4 separate regions of the Homo sapiens genome follow, and all the other regions are linked to region 1. The links are contacts of gene promoters, found by promoter capture Hi-C in blood cells and fetal thymus (Javierre and others, 2016). All regions are on one chromosome and are shown on one strand. The core of a region is centred on a gene start or on the middle of the fragment in contact, and the rest is flanking DNA. Distances in the headings are between cores, read along the strand shown.

Region 1 (4,653 bases), core at 1,393-3,892:
GGGAAGGGCTGCTGATGCCCTTCTATGAACAGACACCTACTGAGAGGGGACATGCAAGGATGAGTGTGAGCAGTGTGTCTCTCTCAGTGAGAGAGGGAGACAGAACACGCTCAATCCTTTCCTGACCTCTCAATCTAATTTTCTTTTTCTGGTTTTCAGAGTTGCATAAAAGGTTTGGTGGGAAGGAAACTCGATTCAACAAAGTCAAACATACCTGAGTGCCTACGATGCACACGGCGCTGGCCTGGGCAGGACAGTACAGAGGGGTGAGCTATAGCCGGGGCAGGTAAGTTCTTACCACAGGAAAGTAACTCTCGGGAGAAAGGTGCAAACAAGGGACTGAGGGAGCTCAAAGGAGAGAGAGGGAGGGTCTGCAGAAGGTAGAAGTGGCCATAAAGTCCAGGTGCGGCTTCAACAGTCTGCGATAGGAGGAAGGCAGCATCCCTGTCAGGGAGCAGCAGGAGTCCGGGCTAGAGGCTGGAGAGGAGGAGGAATGGTCAAGGAGCAAAGGCAGGCTGGTGCGGCAGGAGCACTAGTGCGTGGGCTGGGACTGGGGGGCCGAGGCCGAGAAACACGCAGCGGGGCTGGGCAGCGAGACTTGCACCGGAGCCTTTGCCACAGTCCAGGTCAGAAAGGGCCAGTGCCAGGGAGAACTGAAAGGAGGGAACAGACACTAGAGCCCCAGGACTTATGGGGAAGCAGACAGTAGGAGGAAGGGAGTGGAGAAAGAAGAGAGGAATCAAAGGCCACGGGGGTTTTAACCTGCAAGAGGACAGGAAGAATGGCTGACACTAATTATTCAAAATGCTGTAGTGCTTGCCAGTGCGCTCCATCATGCACAGCAATACATAGTTCAGTCTGTATTCAGTAAATGCCATCACCATCTTCCCAGTGGCTGAGGCCAAAACCTAGGGCTCATCCTCAAATCCTCTGCTGCCATGCAACCCTCTTCAGTAAGCCCCATCTGTTCACCTTCCAAAATACCTACTACGCCCATCCAATTCCTTCCCCTGCACTGCTCCATTTTCCTGCCCGACAGGCTCCATTCCCAGATCTTCCCATAGCTCAAGTGTTACCTCCTCCTAGAAGCCTTCCCTGGCCACCAGCCCCCTCCCCAGTCACCCTATTTTATTATCTTCATAGCATGTCACTATCGATGTATTAATGTTTGTTGATGTCTATCTCATTACCTGCCTCCACAGCCTCTTCTGGCTTGTTCATAGCTATGTCACCAACACTTGGAACAGTGCCAAACACACAGTAGGCACTCAGTATATCTTCACTGAACTACCCGTAATGCCATTTTTTGGAGCACAGGGTCCCCCATGCACTATATTGACAGGCATGTAATATTCGGTGGCCCAGAGCAGCTGCCTCCAGGGGATGCCTCCAGAGACTGGGCCAGACCAAGGGTAGACACTGCTGGTGCCTGGTGAGCACTCAGTGTGGGTGCTGCCTGTATCAGGCGGCCAGGCAGCTGGAGAGGAGGAAGTTACCACCCTATGTACAGACACTCCACGGCCTGACCAGCTGAAGGGGGTTTGCAGCCTACAGACTGATGCAATTTCCTTAGCACCAACAGCTGAGAGACATAGCAGGTTACTTCCTCCTCCCTCCAGACAGCAACCAACATCAGCAGGAACAGAGGCTGGCGCCTGTCCCAACACCCGGCGACCCTCAGGCCTTCAGCTGCCGGCTGCAGGTTAGTCCGTGATCCCTGCAGTGGAGTGGGAGGCAGGGCTTCGAACCCAAGCCCTGTCCCCCTCCATCAGCCCCACCCATTTCCTTCACATTGAAGTGTTCTGCCTCTGCTGCCTGTCCCCATCCTACCCCAGCGCAGGCACTGGGAAGCACTTCTCCATTCACAACGCCCCTTCACAAAGAGGTCTCGGTGGAACCTTACAATAGGACGCACACAAAGTCCACTTGACCGGAAAACCGAGGCCAGACCACACCGTCAGTGCCAAACACCGTCAGGCCAGACACCGTCAGTGCCAAAGCCAGGCCTAGAACCCACGTCTCTGCCTGTTGGTTCCGGGCTATTTCTGCTAGTCATTCACAACAGTTTCTAAAATTAATAAGAAATGATAAGTATGCGAAAGTCCATACATGGAAACGTTCCCGTGAGATGCAAAAAGAACAAGGCACAAACGAGCTGACACGGCCAGGTTCGTAGTGTCCGTGTTTGTTCCGCTCCCCACCGGCCCCTGGGCCCCTCCAGGGCAGGGGCATGGCCGTATTGACGCCTGTGACCCCGGGCACCTGGCGCGGTGCTGGCACCAACATCCCGAAATGCGCCAGCCTGGGCACCTCAGGGCCCGGCTCCAAGACCCGGCCCGTGCGACCCCTGGGGCGCCCCCCTAGTCTGGCCAGGCGCGGGGAGCCCCTGCGGCCACGAACCTCTGTCCCGCGGCGGACGGTCCCAGCCCCCTCGGAAAAGTTGCGAGGCTCCCGTCGCGGCGAGCCAACTCCCGCCGCCCCTCGGCGCGACCCCCGCCGCGCCGGCTCACTCACTCATGCTGGGCCGCCAGGTGGTTGAAGACATAGGTGACCGGGATGGCCGAGAGGGACAGCACGAAGACCCCGGTGGCCGCAGAGGCACTCATCGCAGCCGCCGCGCCGCTCGCCCTTCACCGCATCCCGCTGGGCGCCCCGCCCCAGCTTCCGGCGGCGCCCGCGCCCCCTTGGCGCTTGCCCTTCGAGGCGCCTCAGCCGCGCCCCCCGCGTGGCGCCCTCAGCGGCGTCCCCTCAGCGGTGTCTCCTCCGCGCGCCCTCCCAGCCCGCAGCCGTCCCCCGCGCCTGGCCCCGTCGCCCCAAGTGCGCAGGGCCGCGGTGCAGTCCCGGGAGGCGTCCTTGCAGTGCTCCTGCCAGGGGCGCCACGGCTCAGCGGCAAGCGCCCGGCGGCGCCGAGGGGCGGCGACACCCCCGCGCAGGGACAGGTGCCCCTGGCGGCGCGCGCTCCGAGGGAGGGCCCGGGGCACGGCCGGGAACCGGTCATCGAAGAGCTGGAGAGGCGCGGGGCTGAGCTGCGGTCCGGGAAAGGTGGAACCAGATCCGAGGGTGTCAGAGGAGGAAGGGCCCGCGGGATCGTCTATGGGGGAGCCCACGGCCCAGAAGTGGGAAAGGACAAAATGCCCCTGAAACCTCGGAACCTCTCCGCTCCAGTAGCCATCGGCGGGCTGCTGCACGGAGCCGGCATCCGGTTTTTAAACCTGGCTCTCCAGTCACCAGCTGTTGACTTTGGTCAAATTACTTAACCTCTCTGTCTTTTCCCTTATCTGGGAAATGGGGATAACACACTTCATAGTGTGACTGTGGGGTTAACTGAGTTCATACCTACGAAGCGCGTTATCCTGTGCTGCTCACTACACCACCTCCTGCGATTCTTTTTTTTTTTTTTTCTTTAATTGAAATGGACATAAATGCTGAGACTCTAAGAGACTAGAGCGCCATTCATTGCTATTCCAGGAAGCATTCCTGGAGGCCAGGTGCCCACCAGCCAGCCTGCATTGGGCCCTGCAGGGTACAAAGACTGGAAGATAAGCCTCTTCCTCTGAATGATAGATGCCTACGGGTATGGAAAATATTGTGTGTCAAGTGTTGTGGCTATCTGAAGGGCAGTGAGTTCCAGGAGAACAGCTCAAGCAACTGAGGGAGGTACCGGCATGTACTTACTGTCTTTACAACTTCCAGGGAATTTAAGAGACCATTTATGTGTTTTTGCTGTTGCCATTTGAGGGGTTTATTTTATTTATTTATTTATTTATTTATTTATTATTTTTATTTTTTTTTTTTTTTGAGACAGAGTCTCGCTCTGTCACCCAGGCTGGAGTGCAGTGGTGCAATCTTGGCTCACTGCAAGCTCCACCTCCCGGGGTTCACGCCATTCTGCCTCAGCCTCCAGAGTAGCTGGGACTACAGGTGCCCGCCACCGCGCCGGGCTAATTTTTTGTATTTTTAGTAGAGACGGGGTTTCACCGTGGTCTTGATCTCCTGACCTCGTGATCCGCCCGCCTCGGCCTCCCAAAGTGCTGGGATTACAGGCGTGAGCCACCGCGCCCAGCCTATTTTTATTTTTATTTTTTTAAGACAGGGTCTCACTCTGCAAACCAGGCTAGAGGCAGTGGAGAGATGAGGGCTCACTGCAGTCCCCACTTTCCCACGCCAAGCCATCCTCCCAGCTTAGCCTCCTTAGCTCCTGGGACTACAGTCTCGCACCACTTCTTTGTAGAGGCAGGGTCTCACTATGTTGCCCAAGCTGGTCTCAAACTCCTGGGCTCAAGTGATCCTCCCTCCTCGGCCTCCCAAAGTGCTGGGATTACAGGTGTGAGCCACCGCACCTAGCCTCTAAAAGACCATTTGGCTCATTTTAGACATGAGGAAAATGAGCTACGAGGAGGTATGGCCTGCTCCAGGGCCACTCCACTTTTCAAATGCCAGTTCTCCTAATCCTTCATCCTAGTTCTTCTTGAAGGCTTCTCCAGCTCTGAGTGCATAACGTTTAAGCCTTGGCCCACACTGTGACATATCCAAAGTTTCTCCAAGAGGTGTCCTCACCTGTCACCTGCACATCACCCTCTTCCACCCCTAACCTTCACCACTCTCCTTAAACTCCTACTTCCTCCCTGACAAGAGACACTTCCTCCTATACCT
Region 2 (4,653 bases), core at 905-3,404, 120 kb after region 1:
ATGTAACCGAGCGCCTTCCTCTAAAATCCGACAACCACCTGACTTCCGCTTCCGGCGGGCTAAAGTTGAGGGTGCCTGTCAAGTCTCGCGATAACTAAGGCTCTCCGTGTGGATCGCTTTGCAACAGATCGCTTCTTCAAATGCTGGCACAACGCCCAGAGCTCGATGAGGTGTGGGCAAGTAGCTGTCTAAAGGTGGATGATGCCCTCCATGCACTTTCAGCCTGCCTGGTGGCTGGGCAGTCGAAAACGTCGCCGTCTATTAAGCTCCTTTGATTGGGAGCAGGTGACGGGTAGAGACGGAAGTTCTGGGAATCACCGGAGAAGGGAGGGAAGGGCTCCTTCCGGCCGCCTGCTCCCGGAGTCTTCGTGGGGAACGTGAGGTGAGAGCAGGCGGTGAAGAGTAGACACGACTGATGACTTCAGGGATGCTACACCTTTCTCTCCTGCCTGGGCAAGCCTCGGTAGTAAGATTTCCGTAGTCCGTTTTGTATGTGGTTTTGCAGAAACATACCCCCTCTCTGCTCCAGCTTCAGTCGTCAGTATCCAGCTACTTCCAAGAGTCTTGCCCATGTCTTGTGGGATGTTCAGCAAATGTATAAACACTTAATATCCCGACAAAGCTTGGCCTCTTCCCTCCCAAATTACTTCCCAGGCTATGCACCCGTTTTTGTTAATACAACCAACTTGGAAACTTTGATGTCAGATTTGATGCCCTTTCTTGCCTTTCCATGCTCCAATCACTTGCCAAGTCCTGTCGATTGTACCCCTACAGTAATTCTTGCATCTTCTTACCCACTGCCCCCACCTAATCAACGTTCTCATTACCATCCCCTGCACGGTGTCAGTGCAGTACCTTTCTCATTGATGTCCTGCCTCTAGCATCACTCTGCTACTAGCCTATCTTACATATACCTGCTATAGGTGTAGCCATCTTCAAGCACCACCGTGATCCAAAATAGCTGATCCAATGGCTCTCTGTTGCCTGTAGATTAAAGGTCAAGTTTATTAACTTGGATTCAAAACTTTTTTTATTTTCTGCTGTTCCCCTTCCATTCTCCCTCAGTCAGTGGTAAACCAGACCCTGTGAAGTACGTCATGCATAAATTATTACATTTTTATAGATTGCTCATGTCCCTTGCATGAAATACCTGTCTCTCCCCCTCATCTCCAAATGTTGAAATTCTTTCCATTATTTAAAGCTTTAGAAAGTGACATCTCTACCTAGAAATAATTTTTCTTTCTATTGAGAGTCCATCATATTTCTGGAATTTCATGTATTTAGTTATTACCACTTTCTAACTTCGAACTAAAATTATTTACTTGCAAGTCTTTCCCCCTATTAAACTGTAAACAGGCCTTTATCTAATGCATTTCTACATTCTGGAGTGTATAACATTGTGCTTTTTTTGTTTGTTTGTTTGTTTGTTTCTTTGACACAGGGTCTCATTCTGTTGCCCAGGCTGGAGTGCAGTGACGTGGTCATGGCATACTGCAGCCTCGACTTCCTGGGCTCAGGCGATCCTCTCAGCTCAGCCTCCGGAGAGCTGGGACTACAGGTGCACACCACCACCCTGCTAATTTTTTGTATTTTTTGTAGAGATGGAATTTTGCAGTATTGCCCAGTCTGGTCTCGAACTCTGGGCTCAAGCAGTCCACCCACCTCAGCCTCCCAAAGGGCTGGGATTACAGGCCTGAGCCGTGGAGCCCAGCCCCACATTGTGCTTTTTCCATGACGTTAGCACTGAATAAATGTTTGTGGAATGAATGATAGAACTATGAATATTCCAAGTAATGTTTTAGAAACATTAACCTAGCAAAAGTATATAGGATAGTATGGATGAGGGAATAGGATAGTCTTGGTGTTGGGTAGTAAAGGTAAGAGGTGTAACAACCAAGGTTACAATAATTGAATAAAAGGCCGGGTGCGGTGGCTCACGCCTGTAATCCCAGCACTTTGGGAGGTCGAGGCGGGTGGATCATGAGGTCAGGAGATCAAGACCATCCTGGCTAACACGGTGAAACCCTGTCTCTACTAAGTATACATAAAATTAGCTGGGCGTGGTGGCCGGCGCCTGTAGTCCTAGCTACTCGGGAGGCTGAGGCAGGAGAATGGCGTGAACCCAGGAGGCGGAGCTTGCAGTGAGCAGAGATTGCGCCACTGCACTCCAGCCTGGGTGACAGAGCAAGACTCCGTCTCAAAAAAAAAAAAAAATAATAATAATAATTGAATAGTACTATTCTGGAGCTCCAGTAGTGCAATTGGTTAGCGCGCTATAGTGCGCTAAATAGTAAATAGTACTATACTTAGTTACTGAGTGGATTACGAGAGAAAAAGATTGGTAGAAATCAGGGAAGGAGCTGGGTGCGGTGGCTTACTCCTGTAATCCCTGCACTTTGAGAGGCCGAGGCAGGCGGATCACTTGAGGTCAGGAGTTCAAGACCAGCCTGACCAACATGGTGAAATCCTGTCTCTACTAAAAAATCAAAAAAATTAGCCGGGCGTGGTCAGGGGCGCCTGTAATCCCAGCTACTCGGGAAGCTGAGGCAGGGAGGATTGCTTGAACTTGGGAGGCAGAGGTTGCAGTGAGCCGAGATTGCACCACTGCCCTCCAGCCTGGGCGACAGAGTGAGACTCCATCTAAAAAAAAAAAGAAAGAAAAGAAAGAAATCAGGAAAGGCTCCAATTCTTTAAGCCTGGGAAATTGGGGCTGAAAAGGAATATCCATAAGGTAAAGTGGCTTTAAGGGAAAAATGAACTCAGAGCCCAAATACATTTGTAAAATTTGAAACACTGGTGAAATATTCAAGAGAAAATTTCCAGGGAGTTGTTAGAAATACAAGACTAAATCTCAGGAAAGAGAGGCTCTACCCAGATATGTAAATGTGTGAGTAATTCATGAAGAAACAATAGTTGAAATCACTGGTGTACAGTTGCTCCCCGACAGGACTGTTTGACTTAACGATTGTTGTACTTTACAATGGTACCATGTGCATTCAGTGGCAGGGTACTTTGAATACCTATACAAACATTCTGTTTTTCACTTTCCGTACAGTAGTCAATAAATTATATGAGATATTCAACATTTTATTATAAAATAAGCTTTGTGTTAAATGAGCTTGCCCAACTATAGGCTAATGTAAGTGTTCTGAGCATGTTTAAGGTAGGCTAAGCTAAGCTATGATGTTTGGTAGATTAGGTGTACTAACTGCATTTTTGACTTAATGATGTTTTCAACTTGTGATGGGTTTATCTGGACATAACCCCGTCAAAAATCAAGGAGCAGCTGTATATGATCTTTTCAACAGGGAAAGTATTCATAGAGAAGAGAAGGCGACCAAGGCCTATCCCTCAGGAAATACCCATATTTAGGAGACAAGAACAGGAAATAGAAAACTTGAAGAGGGGCAGTGTGACAATTGAAAAACTAAGAAAAATGCTTCCTCACCTAGTATCGGGAATCAAGAAGGATATTTGGAAAAGGGGCTTCTTGTAGGCTAGTTTGGTTGTTTCCTTGTGACTATTATTGACATTATTTGTAAGTATTGAGGACTTACCCAGAAAAGAATATAGAGATTGGGCATCCCTAATCCCCAAATACAAAATACAAAATGTCCCCAAATCCAAAACTTTTTGAGTGCCAACATGACACTCAAAGGAAATGCTCATTGGAGCATTTTGGATTTCAGATTTTCATAGTAGGGATACTCAACTGGTATTTTCTTTCCTGTAAATTTGTGTGTGACACTTAGGGGCCTCTAGGCCTCTGAGAGTTTCTGTGAAGAACTCTAGGTATTCCAGCAGATTTTCAAATTTTCAAATGAAATTTTTTTCTGCCCACCAATGTCTTTTCATTCTCTGATATGTTATCGATTATTATGTCTCATTTTCTGACAACAGGAAATCTGTTTCATGAAGGGGAATTTTCTAGATAACTGACACTTAGACTTTAAGCATCAGAAATTTTTTATTGAAACCATTTTTGATGGAAATGTTTGCAAAATGTGGCTCTTACCTATCTGGTATAACCAGAATATATGGGCCATAATTTAATCTTTGCTGGCAACTAAAAGTCCCTGTTAAAGCATCAGTTATATTCTTCTGGATAGTAATATCCTTGGGCCTGTTGATGTGCATGAGAAAGGTTACATCATGAAATTTATAGTGTTTTTTTCTACTCATTGTAGACATTTTGTTTTACTTAAGCAGATATATTTTTTAAATTGTGGTAAAATATATGTAACATAAAAATTACCATTTTAACCATTTGTAAGTGCACAGGTCATTGACAGTAAGTACATTCACATTGTTGTGCAACTATCACCGCCATCCATCTCGAGATTTTTTCATCTTCTCACACTGAAATTCTGTGCCCATTAAACCATAACTGTATTTTCCTCTCCCCTCTGCCCCTAGCAACCACCATTCTACTTTATCTTTATGAATTTGACTACTCTAGGTACCTCATGCAAGTGAAATACATTATATGCTGTTTTGTGACTGGCTTTACTTAGCATAAGGTCTTCAAGGTTCATCCACATTGTAGCATGTGTCAGAATTTCCTTCCCTTTTAATGAATAATATTGCATTGTATGTTTACACCATATTTTGTTATCCATTCATCTATTAATGGACACTTGAGTTTCTTCCTCC
Region 3 (4,653 bases), core at 701-3,200, 100 kb after region 1:
ATCACCTGAGGTCAGGAGTTCGAGACCAGCCTGACCAACATGGTGAAACCCCATCTCTACGAAAAATACAAAATTAGCCAGATGTGATGGCGCATGCCTGTAATCCCAGTTACTCAGGAGGCTGAGGCAGGAGAATCACTTGAACCTGGGGGGCGGAGGTTGCAGTAAGCCGAGATCGCGCCGTTGCACTCCAGCCTGGGCAACAAGAGTGAAACTCTCTCCCCCCGAAAAAAAAGAAATAAAAAATACATCCTTGAGAAACTTTTTTATTGCTAATGGTGAAGAGGCTGTTAAATAGAAAAATATACTACATGCACAGAAGAACATGGGGGACATATATATATGTATATATTCGAATAAGACTCCAAAAAGTAGAAATTTAAAAAGTGCTATACATTGCATCAGGTTCTAAAATCCCAAACCCCAAACAGCCTGGAACATGTTACTCTGATTTCATGGCGTTGTAAAATAACAGAGCTGGGAAGAATATTCAAGATGACCTGATTTAACACCTTTCATTCTGTTGGGGGGCCTTTGATTTCCTATATCCAGAAGTTGAGAGACTTACTCAAGATTGTACCATGCAAGCTGGCAACTAGAACCCAAATCCTTGGACTACTTGTTGAATGCAGTTTTTCTAGATTGTAAATTAAAAATCATATCTCCACAACGGTTCTGGAATTCTGGGGATTGCCTTCTAATCCAGTTTACAAGTGACAGAAAACCTGTTATGCTGCTTTGTAGTCTTACCTTAGATTTTTAAATGCTTATTTAAATGTAAAAAAAATTTTTTTTTTACATCTTTTAAAGACTATATTTACCATTTTGTTGAAAAAGTAAAGAAAAATCATGACTTGTAATTAAATGTGAATTATAATTTTTGAGAAGTCACTGAATTTTCATCTTCCTCTAATAACTTAAATAATCAGCAAATTCAGTAGTTTTTATGAATCTCCAAAGATCCTTAAAAGAAGAAAGAGGACTTGGAAGCTATTTTCAGTATTTGTAAAAGCTTGTCAGAAATTACATCTATATTAAAGTTTCAAAAGCTAATAATATATTTTTACATCTTCAGGTCAAGTTATAGTAATTTATTAAAGAAAATAAAATTAATTTCCTTTGCTGATCAGGAGAGCTGATCTGCAGTTGTGCGCTTTGTCCAGCAAGTACATGAGAAAGATGTATTGATGGACCAAATCATTAAAAACAAAATCCACAAGGAAGAACAATAATAAAAATTGCTGATGGTAGCTGGGCTTGGTGGCTCACGCCTGTAATCCCAGCGCTTTGGAAGGTTGAGGCAGGAGGAACACTTGAGCCCAGGAGTTTGAGACCAGCCTGGGCAACGAAGTGAGACCCTGTATCTGTCTCTGTCTCTTTCTTTATAGATAGATAGATATACATAGATAGATTTTATACATAGATATATATATTTATATGTAAGATTATATATAAGACCTCATATATAAGAAGTCCAGGCCGGGTGTGGTGGCTCATGCCTGTAATCCCAGCACTTTGGGAGGTCGAGGCGGGTGGATCACCTGAGGTTAGGAGTTTGAGACCAGCCCGGCCAACATAGTAAAACCCCATCTCTACTAAAAATATAAAAACTAGCCAGGCATGGTGGTGGGTGCCTGTAATCTCAGCTACTCGGGAGGCTGAGGCAGGAGAATTGCTTGAACCCAGGAGACGGAAGTTGCAGTGAGCCCACACGGTGCCACTGCACTCCAGCCTCGGCGACAAGAGTGAGACTCCGTCTCAAAAAGAAAGAAAAAATCCCAGACAGTGAAAGAGAAGCTACTCGTCTAGTACAACTCTTAACTTGTACCAAATAGGTATCAAGGGCAAGAAAAGGTGGCTTATGTGAGATCACAGTGCACATTAATGGCAGAGCTTGGTTTAAGCCCAGCTGCTTTGTCTTCTAAACTGTGCCATATACTGCCTGCAAATGTGCTTCTGTTTTACATGGTCTTAAGAGCTTTTCCCACTCTTTCTCAAGACCATTGCCATGTGTGCTGTAAAGCCGTTTTACTTGTGGATTTTACATGGATCACTGTTAGAATGTCATAAAATGATATCATAAAAGATCAACTTTCCTGGCCGGGCATGGTAGCTCACACCTGTAATCCCAGCACTTTGGGAGGCCAAGGCAGGTGGATCACCTGAGGTCGGGAATTCGAGACCAGCCTGACCAACATGGAGAAACCCCATCTCTACTAAAAATACAAAAAATTAGCTGGGCGTGGTGGCACATGCCTGTAATTGCAGCTACTCGGGAGGCTGAGGTAGGAGAATCGCTTGAACCCGGGAGTTGGAGGTTGCGGTGAGCTGAGATCGTGCCATTGCACTCTAGCCTGGGCAAAAGGAGCGAAACTCCATCTCAAAAAAAAAAAAAAAAAAAAAGGATCAACTTTTGGTCAGGCGTGTTGGCTTACGCCTGTAATTCCAGCGCTTTGGGAGGCCGAGGCAGGCAGATCACGAGGTCAGGAGTTCAAGATCACCCTGGCCAACATGGTGAAACCCCGTCTCTACTAAAAATACAAAAGTTACCTGGGCATAGTGGCAGATGCTTGTAATCCCAGCTACTCGGGAGGCTGAGGCAGGAGAATTGCTTGTGAACCGGGACCCTGGAGGCAGAGGTTGCAGTGAGCCAAGATCGCACAACTGCGAACTGCGCTCCAGCGTGGGCTGCAGAGGCAGACTCCGTCTCAAGAAAAAAAAAAATCAGCTTTCTTTCCTTCCCCTGAATCTTCTGCAGTGCCAGTTTCATCCTCAGGCCCACTTGTTTCATGTAGACAAAAGGCCAACCAGGTTTCATATTCACGTATCAACCCCTGCAGTAGGAGAAAAGGCCACTCCTAGGAGCTCTGGTATTTTCCAGAAGCTTTCAGTCAGCCTTCCCTTGTATCAGCCCAAATCAAGTCACATGAAATTTCTAAGCCAGCCCCTGTGATCAGGGAATGCCATTCTATAACACAAGTTCCCTAAAGCAGTAACTATAGAAGAAAGAATTACCCTAATTGTTTCAGGCCAATTAAGGCCCATCCTAGAGGTGGAAATGGGGTCAGCATACTCAGAAGCAAAGAAGTAGAGAGAGTTGGATACCTGAATAAAATTGGGAAAAGTTACAAAGAGAGGAATGGATGCTGGAGAGGAACCACCAGTTTCTACTACGATAACCTATTTACTTCATTTTAAACGGTGATATTTTAAACGTGGGAACATTTTGCCTAGTGAGTTTTTTTCTTTGAGAAACGTAGCAGTATCTTGTAACAAAGAAGATATGGGGACACTCTGTCATCAAAAACTACTTTGGGGCCGGGCATGGTGGCTCACACCTGTAATCCCAGCACTTTGGGAGGCCAAGGTGGGTGGATCACCTGAGGTCAGGAGTTCAAGACCAGCCTGGCCACCATGGTGAAACCCCACCTCTACTAAAAATTACAAAAATTAGCTGGGCGTGGTGGTACATGACTGTAATCTCAGCTACTTGGGAGGCTGAAGCAGGAGAATTGCTTGAACCCGGGAATCAGAAGCTGCAGTGAGCCGGGATCACACCACTGCACTCCAGCCTGGGTGACAGAGCAAGGCTCTGTCTCAATAACAACAACAAAAAAACAGAAACAAACAAAACAAAACAAACTACTGTTGGAGGTAGGAACTGGCCCAGGGGCTGTATTCCCAGAACACGATTCCCTTTTCCCCACTGCAAACAAGATAGTCTACAGCAGCCTCACAACTTAATTGTCTCACACAGGACTATTCCTACTGTTAAGAGATCACAGCTAAGGCTTGGGCACCTTGACCTGCTGTAGAAGCTCAGTTAATGTACTTTTCATCATCTGGGCCCTGGTATTCCCCTGTAAATACTGAAGTAGACCCAGTGACCTAGTGCCCAAGACACAAAATATTCAGCCTCCGTAACATTTGTCTAATGACATGGTTCTAGCTTTGCTCACTCCCATTAATTTCAAGTGAGTACTGGCTAGGCAGTCTATAGTGACTTGATTACACTGTCTTTCTTGTCCTGTGCTGTCCTGAGAATCCTGGATTTGAAGCAGCCTATGAATAAGGTTTGAAAAATATTTATCCAACTATGCCGACATATGATGTTCTAGCACTGCATCTGTCATCTATCACCCGCACCTTAATAAATGATAATTACTTGTGCAAACATGATGTATTAATCACTTATTAACTTGGTTGCTTACTTGACAGACACTGCTAGGTGGTTTGCCTATGCTGTACTTCGACAGATCCTGGGAAAGAACAGCCTGGCTCATTATGCCCTGGAGGCAGGAGCAGAGATTTCAGACTTCTGATTTCTGTGAGCCATTCCACACTTTCCTCTCGGTTAGGGGAGGGACAGCAATAACCAGAGGATGAAGGTGGAACCTTTGCAGTGCACACCTAGGCCAGTGCAGTGGCTTATGCCTGTAATCCCAGCACTTTGGGAGGCTGAGGCGGGTGGATCACTTGAAGTCAGGAGTTTAAGACCAGCCTGACCAATATGGCGAAACCCTGTTTCTACTACAAATACAAATATTCGCTGGGCATGGCAATGCATGCCTGTAGTCCCAGCTACTTGGGAGGCTGAGGCCTGAGAATTGCTTGAACCCAGGAGGCAGAGGTTGCAGTGAGCCAAGATCATGC
Region 4 (4,653 bases), core at 683-3,182, 93 kb before region 1:
TTTCTTCATGATAGAACAGGAAACAACCCAAATGTCCATCAGCAGGAGAATGAGTAAACAAATTTGTAGTATATTCACATAGTGGAGTACTATTTGACAATAAAAAGGAATAAATTACTGATACAGTGGTCACTGGTTTGTAGTGGGTAGAAAGGAGTTATTGAATAGGAGAAGGCACTGGAAATGTTCCCTGTCTTGATCTGGATGGTGTTACATGGATGTGTACATATGTAAAAATGTATCAAGCTGTACATTTAAGATTTGTGCACTATACTGTATGAAAGTTATACCTCAATTTAAAAAACACATTTTATATGAGTTAGGGAGAAAGGAGAACTAATACTTCTACATGGATTAAATTTCACTATTTTTAGCTTTCAGTGAGTTGTTTTTTTTCCTTCGAGTCCTCACTCCTACCAAGCTGCATCTTCCTATTCCCTTTTGACTTATTATAGAAACTTCATTTTCTACTTTAGAGCATTCTCTTTAGACTTTCTTTGAGTTCTGGTTTCAGCCTGTCTGGTTTGTTTACCTGCATCAGTGTCTTTCTCTTCCTTTAATATTAAATCACTGCTTATCATATTTTTGATCTAGCTTTCTTTAACCTCTCACTTTGTAAAGCATAAGAATAAAGCATTTGACCTTCCTATTTATATAGCTTCAAGAGCTGAGCTCTTACTGAACTTTTGTTGAGCACCTACTGTATGTAAGGCACAGGGGTATAGTTTTTTCATATCTCTAGCAATAGATTAAATTTGCAGCAATTCTAAAACATGATTATGAAGTGTTTCCATACCCTTTATTAATATAAATATTTGTTGGGAATCTTCCTTTTCTGATCCATAGCACTTTCAGGTTTTTTGCATTTGACAATGATCTACTAAGAAGGTGATAAATTTATTTCTGGAGACCAGGCCACATTATTTTCAGAGAATCATTTGGGACTTAAGTTCTTTTTAATCTCAACATAAAGTAAGGTGTTTATAATCTTCATTACTTTGGCCTAAGAAGTACATCAGTTGTTCAGTCCTGGCACAAGCTCACTCAGTCTTTTTCCCAGGGACTACTTTCACTTTGCCAAGGATTTGGCAAATTGTCTCATTTTCTCCCACTTAATCTGGGAGCTCATAGGAACTTTAAACTTTTGATACCAATATGTTCATTTTCCGATGCTCCCGTTTCAACCAGATGAGTCTCTATTCCTGGCACATCCCCTTTGGAATTCTCTAATGACTACTGTTCCTCCATGATTTGGAAAATAATATTAATTCTCGGAAGTCAGTTTTCTACTATTAGAGATTGTATTTGATTCTTTTGGGAAATGACTGATGGTTTAAAATTATGTACAACTTCATTGAAAAGCCTGTTTGCATTAGAAAAGTATTATAGGCTTGTAAGTATAATAAATATAGTAGGAGACTAGCCCGAATATATTTATTTATTGGAGAAAGCTTTCTGTTTCAAAAGTCTCAGATGTTAGATCAGAATCCATCCCACTTGATGTAGTTATTCATCCACTACAAAAAGGTGTTCTAATCACTTGCAGTGCTACTGAAAGCATGTCCTGTGAATGTTACTTGTCAGTGACAAAATAGGTACAGAAATTGAAATAAGAGTTTAGAAATTTTTAGAGCCGTTTGATGGAGTAGCTTTGTGAATCTAATAATTGAGGCTTACATTTTGTATGTCTTTATTTTTCTCATAATTTATTTTTATTTTATAAACATGTCTGTTTGCAACTCATTAGAACTTTAAAAAAAAAAACTAGTCATTCACTCTAGGTAGAGTAGAAGTACTGACTATGAAGGATCTTTAAAGGTCAATAGTGGTCCTAATACGTAAAATAATTTGCTCATATGGTGTATTTAAACTATTGGCAACTATGTAAAAGGGGGAATGGGTTGACCTTCATGTTACAAATATTAATTTCTCCTGCATAAAAGTACCCTCATTGAAATAGAGGATAGAGATTATAAATTATTTTTTTCTGTCTTCTTTTTACCTAGATAAGAATTTACCACATTTAGTCTGGTAAATAACCATCTGTATGGTCACAGAGAGCCACACAGAAGTGAAAAAAAAAAAAAAAAAAAGAATAAAGTAATCTAATGATTGGTGAGCACAAGCCTTCAGAATGACATCCTCCAGATTTCTGAGGAAGTCCTGCAATGAAGAGAAAGAGAATCAGACCAGGGGTTAAAAGACAAGTACTTCATTCCACTACTATCTTGGTTTGTTAGGCTGGGCATCTTTTTTATTGTGAACCTCTTTGTAAAATAGGATGGATGATAATTCTTACTCTTTCCCTTCTTTTTCCTAAGGATCAAATGTTAAAATGTATATGAAAGAACTATTTGCTAATTAAGTTCCAATTAAGTTACTAAATAATTATCTCCCAAGAACACAAAGCTTCTTACTTATACAATGCAGGGAACGTAGTAAAGTCTCAGTAAATGCTTCTGTGGTTTGGAAGGTATGTTTTTCAGCAGCTGCTTTGTGGCTTTATAATAGTGAGTTGGCTCTAGACTCTGGGAATTTGGGGACTTCCCATTGTTACCCATCTTGATTTCTGAGTGTGATAGGCCATTTCTTTTTTTTCTTTCTTTTTTTTTTTTGAGATGGAGTCTTGCTCTGTCATGAAGGCTGGAGTGCAGTGGCGGGATCTCCGCTCACTGCAAGCTCCGCCTCCCGGGTTCCTGCCTCAGCCTCCCGAGTAGCTAGGACTACAGGTGCCCACCACCACGCTGGGCTGATTTTTTTGTATTTTTTTAGTAGAGATGGGGTTTCACTGTGTTAGCCAGGATGGTCTCAATCTCCTGACCTCGTGATCTGCCTGCCTCGGCCTCTCAAAGTGCTGGGATTACAGGTGTAAGCCACCACACCTGGCCTTTTTTTTTTTTTTTTTGAGATGGAGTTTCGCTTTGTCGCCCAGGCTGGAGTGCAGTGGGGCGATCTCGGCTCACTGCATCCTCTGCCTCCTGAGTTTAAGCAATTCTCTGCCTCAGTCTCCTGAGTAGCTGAGATTACAGGTGCCCACCACCATGCCCGGCTAATTTTTTTTTTGTATTTTTAGTAGAGACTGGGTTTTACTATCTAGGCCAGGCTGATCTTGAACTCCTGACCTCGTGATCCACCCGCCTCGGCCTCCCAAAGTGCTGGGATTACAGGTGTGAGCCCCTGCACCTGGCTTGTGATAGGCCATTTCTGGAAGTTCCACAGAGCTTCAGGATTTGGGGACAAGATAAACTGGACCACATTAACATACAAAAAGGGTCTAAGAATAAACTATTCTTCTCATTTGATCATTGAAACTCATATTCTGAATAGATTCTCTAAGTCTGAATATAGAGTCTATACAGCTACCCAGAAGTAGAGGTGTCAGTGTAGGGGAGTCAGTGGTAGCTGCCAGGTTGCCTGTATGGGGACTGGAAAATTTCTGATCACATAGTAATAACTTCTCAGTTTCTATTGCAAAATACGAGATGAGAGTGGTTTTAAGTGATAGTTTCAGTAGTGGTTAGCACATATAAAAATGAGTTTCACAGAAGATTAAGGATTTTTTATGATGTAGACAGGTCAGAAAATAAACTCAACTTCAGATCTCTATTTCCTTTTCCTTTGACACTGAAGTAGTACTTTATTATTAATAACATGTTTGATCTTGGAGGAAATGCTTGTTCAGAGGGAGTAGTAGTATAAATTCTCAGTTAATGCTTTTAGAGTTACCATATGTTGAATGGATTGAAAATTCCCTCTAGACCACTATTTGATGTTCCAAATGAAACCAACTAATTTAAAACAAGTTATAACTTCTCTTATCTCCTTCCCTGGACTACTACATGATGATGAAGTCAATAATTTTGAAAAAAATATTTAGACTTTGGAAATGAGTTGTTGTTGCTGATTGATTGCAGTCTAACGGCTTTCAGGTTTTTTGACTGTAACCTACAGTGAGAAATAAATATTAATTCCCATCCCAGTACGTGCACATGCATGCACACACACACTGCTGAGATTTTTATATGATCCGTTTGTCCCCTCCAAAACTCATGTTGAAATTTTATCCCCAGTGTGGTGGTGTTGGGAGGTGGGTTCTAGCGAGAGGTGTTTGGGTACTGTTGCTGGTCCTGTGGTAGTGAGTTCTCCCTCTCTGGAGACTAGATTAGTTCTCTGAGAATAGATTAGTTCTTGCAAGAGTGAGTTATAAAGCAAGTTTCTTCCTCCTGTTTGGTTGCTTTTCACGTGTCCACTTTCCCTTTGACCTTCTTTGCCATGTTTTGAGTTAGCACGTGGCCCTTACCAGAAGCTGAGCAGATGCTGGTACCATGCTTATACTTTCCAGCCTGCAGAACCATGAGCTAAATAAAGCCTGTTTTCTTTATAAATTACCCAGCCTCATTTATTCTGTTACAGCAACCCAAAATGGACTAAGATGCACCTATAACAAAAAAATTTTCAAGTTGTACTTACTATATGTGATACATTCTGATATTTTTATATTTCATTTTATGTAAAGTCAGGTTGCAACCTGCTAAATGAGTTTCATTACCTACAGTTTGAAAAACACTGGTCTGGTCAGTAGGCCAAAGGGAAAGTAATCTCTGTGAGTTGTATGCGTTTATATAGAACAGAAGTTGGATTTTTGAGAGGATG

Evidence for each region. Contacts are between HindIII fragments. The CHiCAGO score rates a contact against its expected background, and 5 or more counts as called.
Region 2: a contact is called between a fragment that was not itself captured here and the fragment with the promoter of TM6SF1 in region 1, in 1 of 17 cell types (neutrophils). The highest score is 5.2, in neutrophils.
Region 3: a contact is called between a fragment that was not itself captured here and the fragment with the promoter of TM6SF1 in region 1, in 2 of 17 cell types (megakaryocytes and endothelial precursors). The highest score is 6.2, in megakaryocytes.
Region 4: a fragment that was not itself captured here is called in contact with the fragment with the promoter of TM6SF1 in region 1 in 2 of 17 cell types (endothelial precursors and megakaryocytes); the score reaches 6.3 in endothelial precursors.

What each region holds. Positions count from the first base shown.
Region 1 is chr15:83,105,634-83,110,286 of GRCh38, reverse strand. TM6SF1 (transmembrane 6 superfamily member 1) reads right to left here and starts at 2,642. Exons shown (of 10, transcript NM_023003.5): 1 at 2,515-2,642. The coding sequence starts at 2,606. RefSeq lists silencers at 2,585-2,704, 2,735-3,014. The HindIII fragment of the contact is 11,695 bases long and covers 1-4,653 here.
Region 2 is chr15:82,981,597-82,986,249 of GRCh38, reverse strand. RAMAC (RNA guanine-7 methyltransferase activating subunit) reads right to left here and starts at 40. Exons shown (of 4, transcript NM_031452.4): 1 at 1-40. It also overlaps a transcript of HOMER2 not described here. The HindIII fragment of the contact is 1,901 bases long and covers 1,204-3,104 here.
Region 3 is chr15:83,000,872-83,005,524 of GRCh38, reverse strand. It overlaps C15orf40 (chromosome 15 open reading frame 40), which reads left to right. Exons shown (of 4, transcript NM_144597.3): 4 at 1-4,653. Among named protein-coding and RNA genes, the nearest start is that of C15orf40, 8.4 kb to the left of the region's middle. The HindIII fragment of the contact is 1,872 bases long and covers 1,015-2,886 here.
Region 4 is chr15:83,198,297-83,202,949 of GRCh38, reverse strand. The region is part of intron 1 of HDGFL3 (HDGF like 3); the gene reads left to right. Among named protein-coding and RNA genes, the nearest start is that of HDGFL3, 7.2 kb to the left of the region's middle. RefSeq lists an enhancer at 2,511-2,670. The HindIII fragment of the contact is 958 bases long and covers 1,454-2,411 here.